Linked DNA regions of Homo sapiens: all the other regions are linked to region 4. Evidence: promoter capture Hi-C in 16 types of primary human blood cells and fetal thymus (Javierre and others, 2016). All regions are on one chromosome and are shown on one strand. The core of a region is centred on a gene start or on the middle of the fragment in contact, and the rest is flanking DNA. Distances in the headings are between cores, read along the strand shown.

What was found. Contacts are between HindIII fragments. The CHiCAGO score rates a contact against its expected background, and 5 or more counts as called.
Region 1: a contact is called between a fragment that was not itself captured here and the fragment with the promoter of DOCK3 in region 4, in 1 of 17 cell types (M2 macrophages). The highest score is 5.4, in M2 macrophages.
Region 2: a fragment that was not itself captured here is called in contact with the fragment with the promoter of DOCK3 in region 4 in 1 of 17 cell types (M2 macrophages); the score reaches 7.0 in M2 macrophages.
Region 3: a contact is called between a fragment that was not itself captured here and the fragment with the promoter of DOCK3 in region 4, in 1 of 17 cell types (M2 macrophages). The highest score is 5.9, in M2 macrophages.
Region 5: a contact is called between a fragment that was not itself captured here and the fragment with the promoter of DOCK3 in region 4, in 1 of 17 cell types (M0 macrophages). The highest score is 5.2, in M0 macrophages.

What each region holds. Positions count from the first base shown.
Region 1 is chr3:51,028,377-51,031,076 of GRCh38, reverse strand. All of the region lies in intron 5 of DOCK3 (dedicator of cytokinesis 3), which reads right to left. Among named protein-coding and RNA genes, the nearest start is that of MIR4787, 350 kb to the right of the region's middle. The HindIII fragment of the contact is 3,047 bases long and covers 1-2,700 here.
Region 2 is chr3:50,944,373-50,947,181 of GRCh38, reverse strand. The region is part of intron 5 of DOCK3 (dedicator of cytokinesis 3); the gene reads right to left. Among named protein-coding and RNA genes, the nearest start is that of MIR4787, 270 kb to the right of the region's middle. The HindIII fragment of the contact is 1,810 bases long and covers 367-2,176 here.
Region 3 is chr3:51,082,994-51,085,807 of GRCh38, reverse strand. All of the region lies in intron 7 of DOCK3 (dedicator of cytokinesis 3), which reads right to left. Among named protein-coding and RNA genes, the nearest start is that of MANF, 300 kb to the left of the region's middle. The HindIII fragment of the contact is 588 bases long and covers 1,148-1,735 here.
Region 4 is chr3:50,673,501-50,676,200 of GRCh38, reverse strand. It overlaps DOCK3 (dedicator of cytokinesis 3), which reads right to left and starts at 1,274. Exons shown (of 53, transcript NM_004947.5): 1 at 901-1,274. The coding sequence starts at 937. It overlaps MIR4787 (microRNA 4787), which reads right to left and starts at 1,121; the gene lies at 1,038-1,121. RefSeq lists a silencer at 1,021-1,310. The HindIII fragment of the contact is 16,225 bases long and covers 1-2,700 here.
Region 5 is chr3:51,055,174-51,057,939 of GRCh38, reverse strand. All of the region lies in intron 5 of DOCK3 (dedicator of cytokinesis 3), which reads right to left. Among named protein-coding and RNA genes, the nearest start is that of MANF, 330 kb to the left of the region's middle. The HindIII fragment of the contact is 2,995 bases long and covers 1-2,766 here.

The DNA.
Region 1 (2,700 bases), core at 122-2,621, 350 kb before region 4:
CAGCCGCCCAAAGTTCCTGTGAGTACAGCTAAAACATATGAAAAAGTACAAAGCATACCTTTTTGAAGTTAAAGAGTTTTCAAGACAGCCAGGCATTACAAAGCAAAGATCAAGGAAAGAAGGAAAACTCAGTGGGGTAGCCCAACATTTTGCATGCCATTTTCCCAATCAGAGATTTAATGATTCTTAGGTTGGCAAGAAAGGCTAAGAAGCCAGAGAGAGGATGGCCACTAATAGATGAGAGCTTTAGGCAATCACACAGGACGGGGAAGACAAAAATTGGGGTTTGTGCTGCCAAGGTTGTCAAAACTTGAGGGGCTAAGATTTAAAAGAAAACAGAAGCCTATTTAGGTGTGCTCTATGCTCTTGGAGATGTTATTCCTCTTGACACATTTGCTGATTCTTAAAATGCTTATTACTCAGTACTAAAATGACTAGCAGAAAGTAAACTAAAAGTAGAACAGATTTTAGCAGTGTTTTGGAGACAAAAATTGGATCCAGAACTTGACAAGAAGGTAAACAACACACAGTAAACAACCTAGCCTCTCAACTAGAACCACTAGAGGGTGTATCCTAAAAATGGATACTAATCAGAGGTAGACTATACCTTACCATGACTATAATGCTGCCATATCAAAGAATCTGCCTTACTCAAATAGCCAGGGGATAAGGTGAGCACTCTATAGGGGAAGAGGACAGCATGCAAAGCCTCTATAATTTTTCATACGTGATATCTGGGATTCAATTAAAAATTATCAGGCCTACCAGGAGACATGACCATGGAAAAAACAGTCAACTGAAACAGACCAAAAGATGGCCAACTAGGAACAGCATAAATTCTTCTCAGAAAAAAGATCAAAGTTATTAGTGAATGGTCAAGTTTGGAGTGCAAAATGGAAGGTGGAGAGCCAGGACTTGTTGGAATGCCCAACCAAAGAAGTGGGGCGCACAGAAAATGAGCAGCAAAAGTCTGTCTGGCATTGACCTCCAAGGAGGTCAGAGTCCAGTAGAAAGAGTAGGAGAGAGTGCTTTCCTCCTCCCCTTCCCCCTCTGATAATCTGCTTACTGCCAAACTGCTGGAGAGCGCCTCTGGCCCACCCCCCGACCCCGTGTCCCAGGGAAACACAATAGGTGGCAATTAGAGATCTTCTCAGGAACAGAGAACCAGGTGGCCACCTTGAGCAGATGTGCTGAACCTGCCCCTTCAGATGCAGACTGAGATGGCAGGTGCCATGCTAGCTGTGCACATGTGGTACCACTGCCCTGATGAGAGATTCTCCACCCTTGAGCCACTGCACCCTTAGACCACCAGCAGACATACCCCACAACCCACTCTGACTCTGGCAAGCATGAGGGACTGTTGGATCCCCAGGGAGTTGTGGGTCCCCTGGAGATATAACCTTCAACACAAACTGCACCTAAGGGAAGGAGGAGGGCAGCACACCAAAGCCCCGCCTTGGGACAAAGGGAATGCAGGTGTGGCACCAACCACTTCAGGGGGTTCCACCAAAGCCTGGGAATGAACATGAAGAGAGAATCATCTCTTTCCCCCTGTTCCCCTCCCCAGTGCACTGTTGCAGACATGGCAGATGCCTTTCCCACTGGGGCCTCGTGGGTGTGCACTGAAAAAGAATGATTTTTGTGCTTCTTTGGCAGCCCCACCCCCACTGAAAGCCAAGCACATGCTGAGAGAGAGCTTTTCATGCTTTTATGGCAGCTCCAGCCCCGCAGAGGGTGAGCAAGCATGAACTAAGTAAAAGCCTACCTGCTGGCTCTTACTCTTAGACACCATCTACCAGACTGCAGCCTGAATTACACAACCAAAGAAAAATACATCGTTGCAAGTAGCATCTCAGAAAATGACTACATGAACCTATCTGTAACCAAGGAACCCATACAAAACCTTGGCCCTCTGAAAGCATGCAGAAATGAAGAGAAATGATCATATACAACATACAGCACAGTCATATCCTCAAGGGAAAGAAGAATAAAAAATCAAAAAAGCCCATTAAAATTAAAGTAAATTTTTAAAAAAAGAAACATCAGCTCTCTCAGATGAAAAGGAATCAGCACAAGAACTCTGGCAATAAAAAAAGCCAGTGTTTCTTCACCTCCAAAGGATCACACTAGCTCTCTAGCAATGGATGCCAACCAGACTAAAATGTCTGAAATGACAATATAGAATTAAGAATACAGATGGCAAGAAAACACAATGAGATTCTCATGGAAGTTGAAATTCAATACAAAGTCACCAGAGAAATGATCAAGATATGAAAGACAACATAGCTATATTAAAAAAAGAACCAAACAGAACTGGAATTTAAAATTTCACTACAGGAATTTCAAAATGCATTGGAAACCTTAACAACAGACTAGACCAATTAGAAGAAAGAATTTCACAGCTTGAAGACCAGTCTTTGAGTCAACCCACTCAGACAAAAATCAAAGAAAAAACAATTTAAAAAAACAAAACCTTCAAGAAATATGGGATTATGTAAAGCAACCAAGCCCATGACTTATTTTCATTTCTGAGAGAAAAAAACAGAAAGTAAGCAATTTAGAAAACGTATTTGAGGGTATAATTCAGAAAAATTTCCCCAATCTTGCTAGAGGTTGACATGCAGCTACAAGAAATTAAGAGAACACCTGCAAGATACACAAGACAAACATCCCAAAGTTACACAGTATTCTGATTATCCA
Region 2 (2,809 bases), core at 22-2,521, 270 kb before region 4:
ATTTGAGAATCAATTTCTATTTCAATACAGACAGTAGTGAAGGTAAGCTCACTATATCACATAAAAAAAAACTAGTAAATTAAAAGTAGTGGGAATCAATCATTTAATGAGTCAGTTCACTATTCCTCAGTGACATCTCATAGATCAATTAGGTTTGTGTTTGGTTTTTTTATCCTGTTGTTAACAGGATTTAACTATTTTCTCACATAAAAAGTTTAGAAGTTAAATAGGATTTTTACAGTGACTGTACAATGTGAACAAAGTTTTAGACATCTTCCATCGTTGCATCCTGACATCCCTGGAATAAAATTTTTAACCTTGTAGTTGTCATATCCTGGTAATAAGACAGCAACTGCATCATAAGCTTACCCAAAACTAAAAAGAGAGAAGGATGAAGGACGATGGGCTAATGAGCATGCTAATGCAGTTACAAGAAAACAATCTTGTGACAATGCAGTCTGCTACAAGCAAAACAATGGCATTTCCAGAAATCCCTTGTACAAACTACTTCTTATTTCTTATAGCCAGAAGTGTATCATACAACCTCCCCTAGCTTCAAGGGAGTCAGGAAAGATGAATACTTTTTAGCTGTACACACTGCCTACCTAAACAGTTCTGAGATCTTTTAACAAGGAAGAAGATTCTGGATACTGGATAGCCACTAGGGTGTCTGCCAAAATATACTTTTAGATTGTAAACCTAGCTAAGATGAAATACACTAAAAGTTATCTTCAAAAAACAAAAGATAGCCTTACATAGTTAAAATACTAATTTTAATTACATTGAGAGAAAAATCTTTGAAACTATCATATCTTGTTATGTACAAAATATATCTTTAATGCAGCAAAAAACGGGCATTATCTTCCAAAGATTAAAAAGTTGAGGGTGGGGTAAGATAGGGAACTAGTATATATTTGAAAAATAGTAGGGCTAAAGCACGTCAAAGCCCTTCTTCAGTAACAGACTCCTACAACAGTAAATACCCATTCCTATGAAATAGCAACAAAAGTCAAATATGAGTAAGCATTTAATCACTGAAAATGCACAAGGCACAGTTATAAGCCTTTTTTTTTTTTTTTTTTTTTTTAAGAGATGGGGTTTCACTCTATTGCCCAGAGCTGGAGCAAAGTAGCTCAATCATAGCTCACAGCAGCCTTAAACTCCTGGGCTCAAATGATCTTCCTGCCTCAGCTTCCCAAGTAGCTGGGATTACAGAAATGAGCCACTACACTGGCCCTAAACTTTTTATATCATTTAAACAACATGACAACCCTGGAATGTGGGTCCCATTATCCCCTACAGTGAAGCTAAAGTGCTCAAAATCATGCAGCTAGCAAATTGTGACATTTGAATCTGAATTCAGGAAATCTGTTTCCAAAGCCTGTGCACTTAGCCACTATATGATATTCCCCTAAATTCCTCTTATACATAATCTGAATATATAAAGGTGCAAAAATGTATGTTCTTAATCTTTAACAAATCAATATTCTTGGGATAACCATAAAAATGAATAATGGAATTTTGCATATTCTGTTATGAGGGGTCTCAACGTGCTATGCCATCTTCCATTTGCAAATTTAATCTTCCAGGGATTTAAAGGAAGGGATTATACAGCAGAATTCAGAGAACTGTGTCTTGTTTCTCATAAAATCTAGAAATTGTTCATTTCTTAGAGACTCTTTAAAAAATAAAACATAATCTCTTATATTAATACAAAATAGAACTGTTACAAAGCATGTCATCTTCAGTAACTATGCCCTAGTAGAGTGTTTAATCTCTTCCTATAAAATGAAAATACTAAAGTATTATACTAAATACTAAAGTATTATATTAAAGTATGTTTCATTACAAAAAACAAACTATATGGTAAACTTCATCATACATACCCACTTAAATAAAGGTGAATTTTTAATAGGAAAGCAAAAATTCTAATAATATTGTCACCCTACAGTAGTACACACAAAATGACTGAAGCAATTTATCTACAATTATAAAACGCTTCAGTTGTATACTTGAGGAAAAATTCACAGTCAAAATTAATGCAAACACACATACCTTTACCTTTTAGTTTATCCTTATCTTATTAAATGTCATCTTAACAGGATACTCTAGTTGAATGTTAAATTCTCTCACAGAAAATGCCATGTTTAAGTTGATAGGAAACAACTACAAAGCTTTTTTGGGTTTTTATTTGTTAGTTTGTGTTTGTTTTTGTTTTTTTGAGATGGAGTTTCATTCTTGTTGCCCAGGCAGGAGTGTGATGACGCGATCTCAGCTCACTGCAGCCTCCACCTCCCAGGTTCAAGCAATTCTCCTGCCTCAGCCTCCTGAATAGCTGGGATTACAGGCTCCTGCCACCATGCCCAGCTAATTTTTTGTACTTTTAGTAGAGATGGGGTTTTGCCATCTTGGCCAGGCTGGTCTCGAACATCTGGCCTCAGGTGATCCGCTCACCTCAACCTCCCAAAGTGCTAGAATTACAGGCCTGAGCCACCATGCCCCGCCTACAAAGCTTTTTGATGAAGATTTCCTAGTTGCTGGAAAATTCCCTTTTTCTTATTGCCACAATAACTCTAAAAATGAAGAATAAAGATGATTCTGGGTAATAAATTCCTTTTCTAGCTTACATTAGTACTTGGCCTTAATTACTATCTTGGCACAGGGAAAAATATAACTTCTTTGCATGACCTCCAGTGTGCTTTTGGCTTTTAAAAAATAGTATGTGAAACATAAATAACTATTTAAAATATGACAATCTTTTACTTTTTTATAAGACCAGTCAAGTGCAGTATTGAGAAGAGGGAACAAG
Region 3 (2,814 bases), core at 192-2,691, 410 kb before region 4:
ACTTATTTCTACTAACTTTAGGTTTAGTTTGTTTTTCCTTTTTTGGGGTCCTTAAGGCACACCATTAGGTTGTTTATTTGAAATCTTTCCAATTTTTATGTAGGTATTTATTACTGTAAACTTCCCTCTTAGTACTGCTTTTGCCATATCTCACAGAATTTGGATATGTTGTGTTTCCATTTTCACTTGTTTCAAGCAAGTTTTTAATTTCCTTTTTAATTTGTTCATTCACTCATTGCTTATTCAGGAGCATGCTGTTTAATTTCCATGTGTTTATACAGTTTACAAAGTTCCTCTTTTTATTGATTTCTAGTTTTATTTCCCTGTGGTCTGAGAAGATACTTGACATGATTTTGATTTTTCAAAATTTGTTGAGACTTGTTTGTGGCCTAATATGTGCTGTATCCTGGAGTATGTTCCATGTGCTGATGAGAAAAATATGTGCTCTATACTGTTGAATGAAATATTTTGTAATGTCTGTTAAGTACATTTGTTCTATAGAACAGAGTAAGCCTGATGTTTGTTGACTTTCTGTCTGGATAATCTGTCCAGTGCTGAAAGTGTAATGCTGAAGTCCCCAACTATTAATGCATTGGGGTCTGTTGAACTCTTTTGCTCTGATAGTATTTGCTTATATATCTGGGTGCTGTGGTATTGGATGCACATATATTTACAACTGTTATATCCTCTTGCTGAATTGATCCCTTTATCATTACATAATGACCTTATCTATTTTTATGTTTTTTGATGTAAAGTCCATTTTCTCTGATATAAGTATAGCTATTATTGCATGCTTTAGGTTTCTATTTGCATGGAATTTTTTTTCCATCCCTTCACTTTCAGTCTATGTGTGTCGTTATAGGTAAACTGAGTTTTTTGTAGAGAACATATAGTTGGGTCTTGATTTTTAAAATCAATTCAGGCAGTCTATATTTTTTAATTGGAGAATTTAAACAGTTCATATTCAAGGTTGTTAGTAACAGGTAAGGACTCACTCCTGTTGTTTTGTTAATTATTTTGTGATTGTTTAATACATTCTTCATTTCTTTCTTCCTTGTTTCTTGTTTGCCTTTAAGATTTGGTGGTTTTTTTATGATGGTAATGTTTAACTCCTTTCTCATTTGTATATGTATGCTACCAGTAAGCTTTATACTTTTGTGTGTTTTCATGATGGTAGACATTGTCCTTTCGCTTCCAGATACAGAAATCCCTGAAACATTTCTTGTAGGACTGGTCCAGTGGTGATGAATTCCCTCAGTTTTTGCTTGTCTAGAAAGATTTTATGTAACCTCCATTTAAGGATAGCTTTGTTGGGTATAGTATTCTTGGCTGACAATTCCCCTCATGCCCCCACCAATCCCTCACCCCAGAACTTTGAATCTGTCATCCCATTCTCTCCTGGTCTAGAAGGTTTCTGCTGAGAAATGTGCTATTAGTCTGGTGGAGATTCCCTTATATGTGACATGATGCTTTTAACTGTTTTTAGAATTATTTGTCTTTGATTTTTAATAGTTTGATTATATATATATACCTTTAAAATCTTATTAGATTACATCTATTTGGGGATATTTGAGCTTTCTGTATTTGGATGTCTTTATCTCTTGCAAGACTTGTGAAGTTTTCAGCTATTATCTCATTAGCAGGTTTTCTATATCTTTGCCCATGCCTTCTCCTTGTGAAACTGCCAAAATTTGAATATTTATTTGCTTCTGGTACCCTGTATGTCACATAAGCTTTCTTTACTCTTTTTTCTTTTCATCTGATTGATGTCAAAAAACCTGTCTTCAGATTCAGAAACTCTTTTATTTATTTATTTATTTATTTGAGATGGAGTCTCGCTCTGTCGCCCAGGCTGGAGTACAGTGGTGTGATCTTGGCTCACTGCAACCTTCGCCTCCTGGGTTCAAGTGATTCTCCTGCCTCAGTCTCCCAAGTAGCTGGGCCTACAGGTGCACATCACCATGCCTGGTTAATTTTTTCTATTTTTAGTAGAGACAAGGTTTCACCATGTTGGTCAGGCTGGTCTCGAACTCTTGGCCTCAGGTGATCCACCTGCCTTGGCCTCCTAAAGTGCTGGGATTATAGTCATGAGCCACTGCGCTTGGCCAGAAAGTCTTTCTTTTGCTTGATTTCATCTATTGTTGAAGCTCTTGACTGTATTTTTTCTTTCATTCACTAAAGCTTCAGTTCCAGGATTTCTGTTTGGTTCCTTTCTATGATGCATATCTCTTTGTTAAACTTCAACTCATGAATTGCTTTTCTGATTTTTTATTGTTTATCTGTGTTCTCTTGTATCTCACTGAGCTTCTTTAATCTTATTTTGAATTATTTTTCAGGGATTTCATTCATTTTCTTTTCTATGGGATCTGTTACTAGAGAATTATTGTCTTTGTTTGGAAGTGTCATGTATCTTTGCTTTTTTATGTTTCTTGTGTCCTTACATTGATATGTGGGCATCCAGTGTAACAGCTGCTTGTTCTAATTTTATAGATTGGTTTACATAGGGAAAGACTTTTTCCTATAGATGTATATTTAGTGTTAGGTAGGGTGCTTTGGATTTGATTCTAGGTGAGTGCAGTAGCAGACTCTCCATATGATTTCTTCAGCTATAATCAGTGTCAGTGGTGTCTGTGAGTTCTGCAGTGACTTAGACTGTGGTTGTTAGTAGATGCTGTGGTGAGGCTTAGCTAGGAACAAGAAGATCAGATGGGCTGGTCCTTAGGTCCCCAGGTGGTATATGTGGGACCCCATGGTGGAAGGTCAGTCCTTGGGCCTCCAGGCAGCATGCTTGGGTGCTAGTGATAATGATCAAGT
Region 4 (2,700 bases), core at 25-2,524:
TATGTTTAGACAGGTTTCCTATCTAAAATTTTCCATTACGAGCTTAGGAAAAACAAAACCTGTACACTCAACATTTTAAATCTGTTTCTAACTGAACAAGATGATAGGTGATGCAATGAGGCTTAACTCTATCATGTAATTGCCACAAAACACTAACATTGTAAAACATTCAATACTTTAAATTACTGAATATTCTTTTTAAAGAAGTTGAATATTGTAAGAATTATTTAGCTTCTGGAGTTTAACACTTACAACATTAAAAAAAGGTTTCTAAGAGGAATAAGGTCTCATCTGAAAACAGGGTTTAAAAAAAAAACCGTATAAACATTGATACATGTCCAAAAACATTTCCCATCGTAAGGTATTATTTCTAATACTAAAGGCAAAACAAATTAAAACAGATCAAACATTTGCAGTCAAATGTCCAAATTTTTGAACTGGGAAAATGATGTCAACGTTTTTCATCCGTTTTCTTGTAAGGTTCCAGATCAAAAATAAACAGCCATCGGGCTCATCAATTCAGGTGCGGAAACTCATTAAAATCGAGCTTTTGGAGGGGAGAAAACATATTCCCAGAATTTGGTTTATCGGGTAAAATTGCCCCGTGGCCCACACCAGAAACCTCGGGCAACTGCCCGGGCCTTGCCCACCCCTCCCGCGGGCCGCACCTGCCAAGGCCGCACCGCCAGCGCCCCCTGCCGCCCTCTCTGCACAGAGACCCGCGCCCACCCCCGCACCCGCACCCGCACCCGCACCTGCCCCCACCCCGCGCTCGCCCCGCGCCGAGGCCGCGCAGCCTGCGGGCAGTGGCGGGGGCACGAGGATGCGAATCCAGGCGGGGCCGGGAGCTGGGCGCGTCCCCCAGAACCCCCGCCACGGCCAGGCCTGAGCCTCACCTACCTACGCCGTATTTCTCCTCCTCCGTGGGGGTCCACATGGCCGTGCCGGGCGCGGCCCCGCGGGCGCGGCGACCGGGCGACAACGCGGCGGGGACGGCCGCGGGCCCGGCTGTGGCGCACCGCGAGTCGAGGCGGGGACGGTCAGGCGGCGCGGGGCAGTGGGCGGCGCATCCCTCACAGGCCGTCCGGGATGCCGCCGCCACCCCCGCCACGTCTGGACCGCGAGGCTCCGCGGGTGGCCCAGCAGCCCCTGGCGGCGCGGGCGAAGGCTCGCCACCTGTCCGTCGCCGCTGCTCCCGTGCCGCCGCTTGCTTCTTCACAGCTCCGCCGCCCGGCTCCCGGCGCCGCCGCGGCTCGGCTCGCCCCAGCGGGCTCGCAGGACGCCCGCGCATGCGCCACTCCCTGCCGCGCAGGGGCTCGCGCTGCCCGGGCTCGCGCCGTCCCGAGCCCGCGCGCGAATCCACGCGCCGCTGCTGCGCGCCAGCGGAGGGAAATCCGCGAGAAGCTATTGGACTGCCCGGCCCCGGACCGGCTTCTAGAATCGCTGGTCCGGGGCCCTCAGCTGCAGCAAACCCCGGAGGGGGCGAAGCCGGTCAGGTGGGCGACTCCCTCTACCCGGACTCCCCACTCGCTTCCGCTTCCAGTGCCTCCTGCCTGCGCCCCGAGATGGCCACAGGCCTCCTGGTCGGAGAGGGGAGATCCAGAAAAGGAGGACACGACACCATTTTCAGACCCATCCCAGTGTCACCCACAGTGCTGTCGGAAAGGTCCCCGGAGCCACCCTGTGCATTCCCAGGGCCCGCAGGATGGAGTCGCCACGAGGGAACCAGGTGGGGTGCACTCGTGCCCCTCTCTCCTGGATCCCCTGTGGGCTGAGGCCGCTGACACCTCCTGGGTTCTTGCTTCTCTGAGATGGCCTGAGTGGTGAATGTTTGGGGCCAGAACAATCAACAGCCGCCTTGCTAGTAAGGAAGAGCTTCATTGGGCCCTTCGTGTTCCTACCCAGGACACGGCATCTGCTGCTCCTGGGTGTCTGCCTCCCTTGGAGCCCTAAGAACTGGCTCCTACCGGAAACTTTCCTCCTCTCTCTCCTCCCTAAGAATCCATTCATTCTGATGCCTGTAAATGTCACCTTGTGACCCCCAAGTCAACCACTTACCAAAGAACAGGAACTGCAGGACTTCTCCTTTCCACCTACATTTGGACCACATGCTCTAATCCCAGCAGATTTGCCCATCTCTGTCACTAGCACTACTAAGTCAAAACCCTGGTGTCATCCTTCACTAGCACTCTCAGACACCACCACTCTTCAAAGCCCAGCTCAGCCCCTCACCTCCAGGAAGCCTGCCCTGACCCATAGTCTCCTTTCCTTCTTTGTCTGGAATTGGAGCTATGTTCGGTTTGTCTTATTTCCCTTATAAGACTGTCAGCTCCCAGAAGGCAAGCTCCAGGCTAAAATCAACTTTCTAAACCCTCACCACCAACCCAGCACCTGTTGTATAGTTGTTGCATGGGAAGCCAGACTAATAGAAGAATATCTTGCAATCAACAGATCTTGTTGATTCTTCGTTCAAAGTGTCATGATTGGTAACTCCTCCCAGGCCTGACTGTGCTCCCCTGGGTTATGGCCACCCCTTCCCACCTTCGGACCTTTAGGCTCCTCCTCTCACTAATCATAGCTGCCCACTCCCGCCCAGAAAAATGTCTGTTCTGTGAATGATAGAATTTCTCAATAGCCAGGTACACTTCTTTTTAGGGGTAGCAGGGGTGTCCAAGAACATAACGAAAGAGCTAACTGTTC
Region 5 (2,766 bases), core at 228-2,727, 380 kb before region 4:
TAACTGAAACAATTACACAATTTTTTTCAATAGAAAATCAGTTGTTTCCAAATACATGAAAATGAAATTACTTATCCTACACCAACTGTGTAAAGATGCACAAAGAAGGAAATGGATTAAGTAAAGCAGCACTGTTATTATAACCAATGTGGTGTTAATTTCTTTTTCCGGGCCAACCTAATGACCTCTCTGACCAGAGACCCTAGCAGTAGAGGCTCCACCAACATTGCTCCGACACCGCACTGTGTTCTTGGGCTTGTTAGCATAAGACAGTATATACCACTCAAGGTGAGCAATCTGGGTGACTAGCACCAGAGCATACATTCACCTAGAATGATCTGATGCCACAAAACAGCTGAATACCTCACTCAGGAAAAACAATCCTTTTCTACTTAGAGACCTGCTCCTCAGTGGATTAAAGTAACAGTATAATTAGGTTGGCACTACAGGTTTTGTTTTCTGGCACAATCATCCCTATTTCCTGTCACTGCTAAAATAAAAGGAAAATTCAATGAGGAGGAGATTGGGCAGAAGAAATCTGTATAGCTCATCTTAGCAACACATCCAGCCTCTGCAAAAACCCTACAGACTAATATTTGTCAAGATCAGTCACAGATTATTTGGAAAGTACACTGAAGAGTCAGCAGAAACCATAAATTTAGAATGATTAAACTACTTTACAAACGCATGCCAAGTACAATTTGCCTCACTGTTGTGAAACAATCCCTGGAGCTCTGCAGAAAAAAAGAATATGTTTTAGTGCTCCTGTTTTAAAGATAATTTTTGCTAAATTATTTTTAACCCAGTATGGAAAGAAACGTTGTGCCACAGTGATGCCTCTAAGTCAGTAAATGAGCAAAGTTGTAGGGCATTTGCCAGAAAGTATATTACCTTTATTTTAAAACTACATATGCTTACGGACCAATTAATATAAACACAGCATCATAAAAATCTAATTAAATAAAAATGACATCAGAAATTTTGCTATCCTCAAAGAGAATAATGTCCTGCCACTAGTACTAAAAACTTTACATCAAAATCAATTTAATGGAAGATAAACATTGTTTCCTTCCAATGTTGTTGTGGGAAGATTACCAGATCTCCCCTATTTTACATTTTCTTTTTGAATATTCCTTTATACATAAGTAGATGGGTTTTTTCTCACTTTCTTTTTAACAAATTAACCATTAAGAACTTGAGTTTATTCAAAACTCCCAAAACAGCATTCTTTTTTCATTACTACTAATCTTCAAGTCTCTTCTCATGAAGTAACCTCTAATCCTATTCTAGATGTTTTCTTATATTCCAAAACTCATCCCAATATAATGAAAAGATTTCTAGACTACAGTACTTGGAACCCTAATGACCTTTATGTCAAAAATACCTTTAAATGGCCAGGCACAGTGGCTCACGCCTGTAATCCCAGCACTTTGGGAAGCTGAGGTGGGTGGATCACGAGGTCAGGACATCGAGACCATCCTGGCTAACACTGTGAAACCTCGTCTCTACTAAAAATACAAAAAATTAGCCAGCCATGGTGGCGGGCACCTGTAGTCCCAGTTACTCGGGAGGCAGAGGCAGGAGAATGGTGTGAACCTGGAAGGCAGAGCTTGCAGTGAGCCGAGATTGTGCCACTGCATTCCAGCCTGGGGAACAGAGCGAGACTCCGTCTCAAAAAATAAATAAAATAAAAATAATAATAATAAAATACCTTTAAACCCAGGAATCTAAACTTTCATTTTAGTTTGCCGAACAACATAGTCAGCAACTGAGTACAAAAGATAGAAATTTTTGTGAAACAAAACAGTATCTAAACCAAAGCTAATTCACACTGATTTTCAAGCACATATTTACAACAAATGAAAATGCAAAGAAGCGATATGAAAATTCTTTTTCTCTTCATTAATATGAGGAAGTATCCATACAATATGTATTTCCTTGGCACATACATCTAACTCCTCCACATCTCAAGGGCCATGATATCATCCTCAGTCTATCCCCAGCCCAAATACATCCTCCATTATAGAGTTGATATTCCAAATAACAAATAGCATTATAGCTCTAATCCTCTCTTACAACACATATATTTGCAGGAGAGCTAAGATTTGTAAAAATCTTTCTATTCCACAGAGCAGATCTTCATAAGAAAGGAACAACACCAAAGGTAGAAAGGTAGAAAAAATATTAGAGATATGACAATGGAGGCTGTAGTTGCTGAAGTCATCCATTCACGGATGGATAGATGCCAAGTGAAGGGCATCCATTCACAATTCTGAACAAGGCAGACTTACCTAACAGTGGGCAGTAAACAGCTGAGGCGTTCTCAGGCTCACAGTCACTCCTACTACACAGGACAGATCAAATCTCTACTTAAAGTCAGTCCTCGATGTGTCCATAGGCATCTCTTCTTAGGGAGACTAATAAAAAGCCAGCCTCAATCCTTCCCATGCACAACTATCCACTCCACCAAACATTAAAGGTGAAAGCTGGAAAGTAGATGACTTGTCAAAGAATAGAAAACTAAAAAAGCCCTAAGAGTAAGGTGGAGGAAGACAAGTGAGGAGGGTGGGAAACAGGGAAGAAATCAGTAAGATGCAAGCCTCTGCAGAAAGGCTCTGAGACTGGAGGTACCAGAAATCTCTGAAGCCTAGAAGTATTATCCCCCTTTACCCCCAACCCTTTCCCAGTGTGCTTTCCACATCGAGCTCCCCAGATGTTAACAACCAGGCTGATACCTGCATATGAAGAATGGAGAAGATTCCTCTT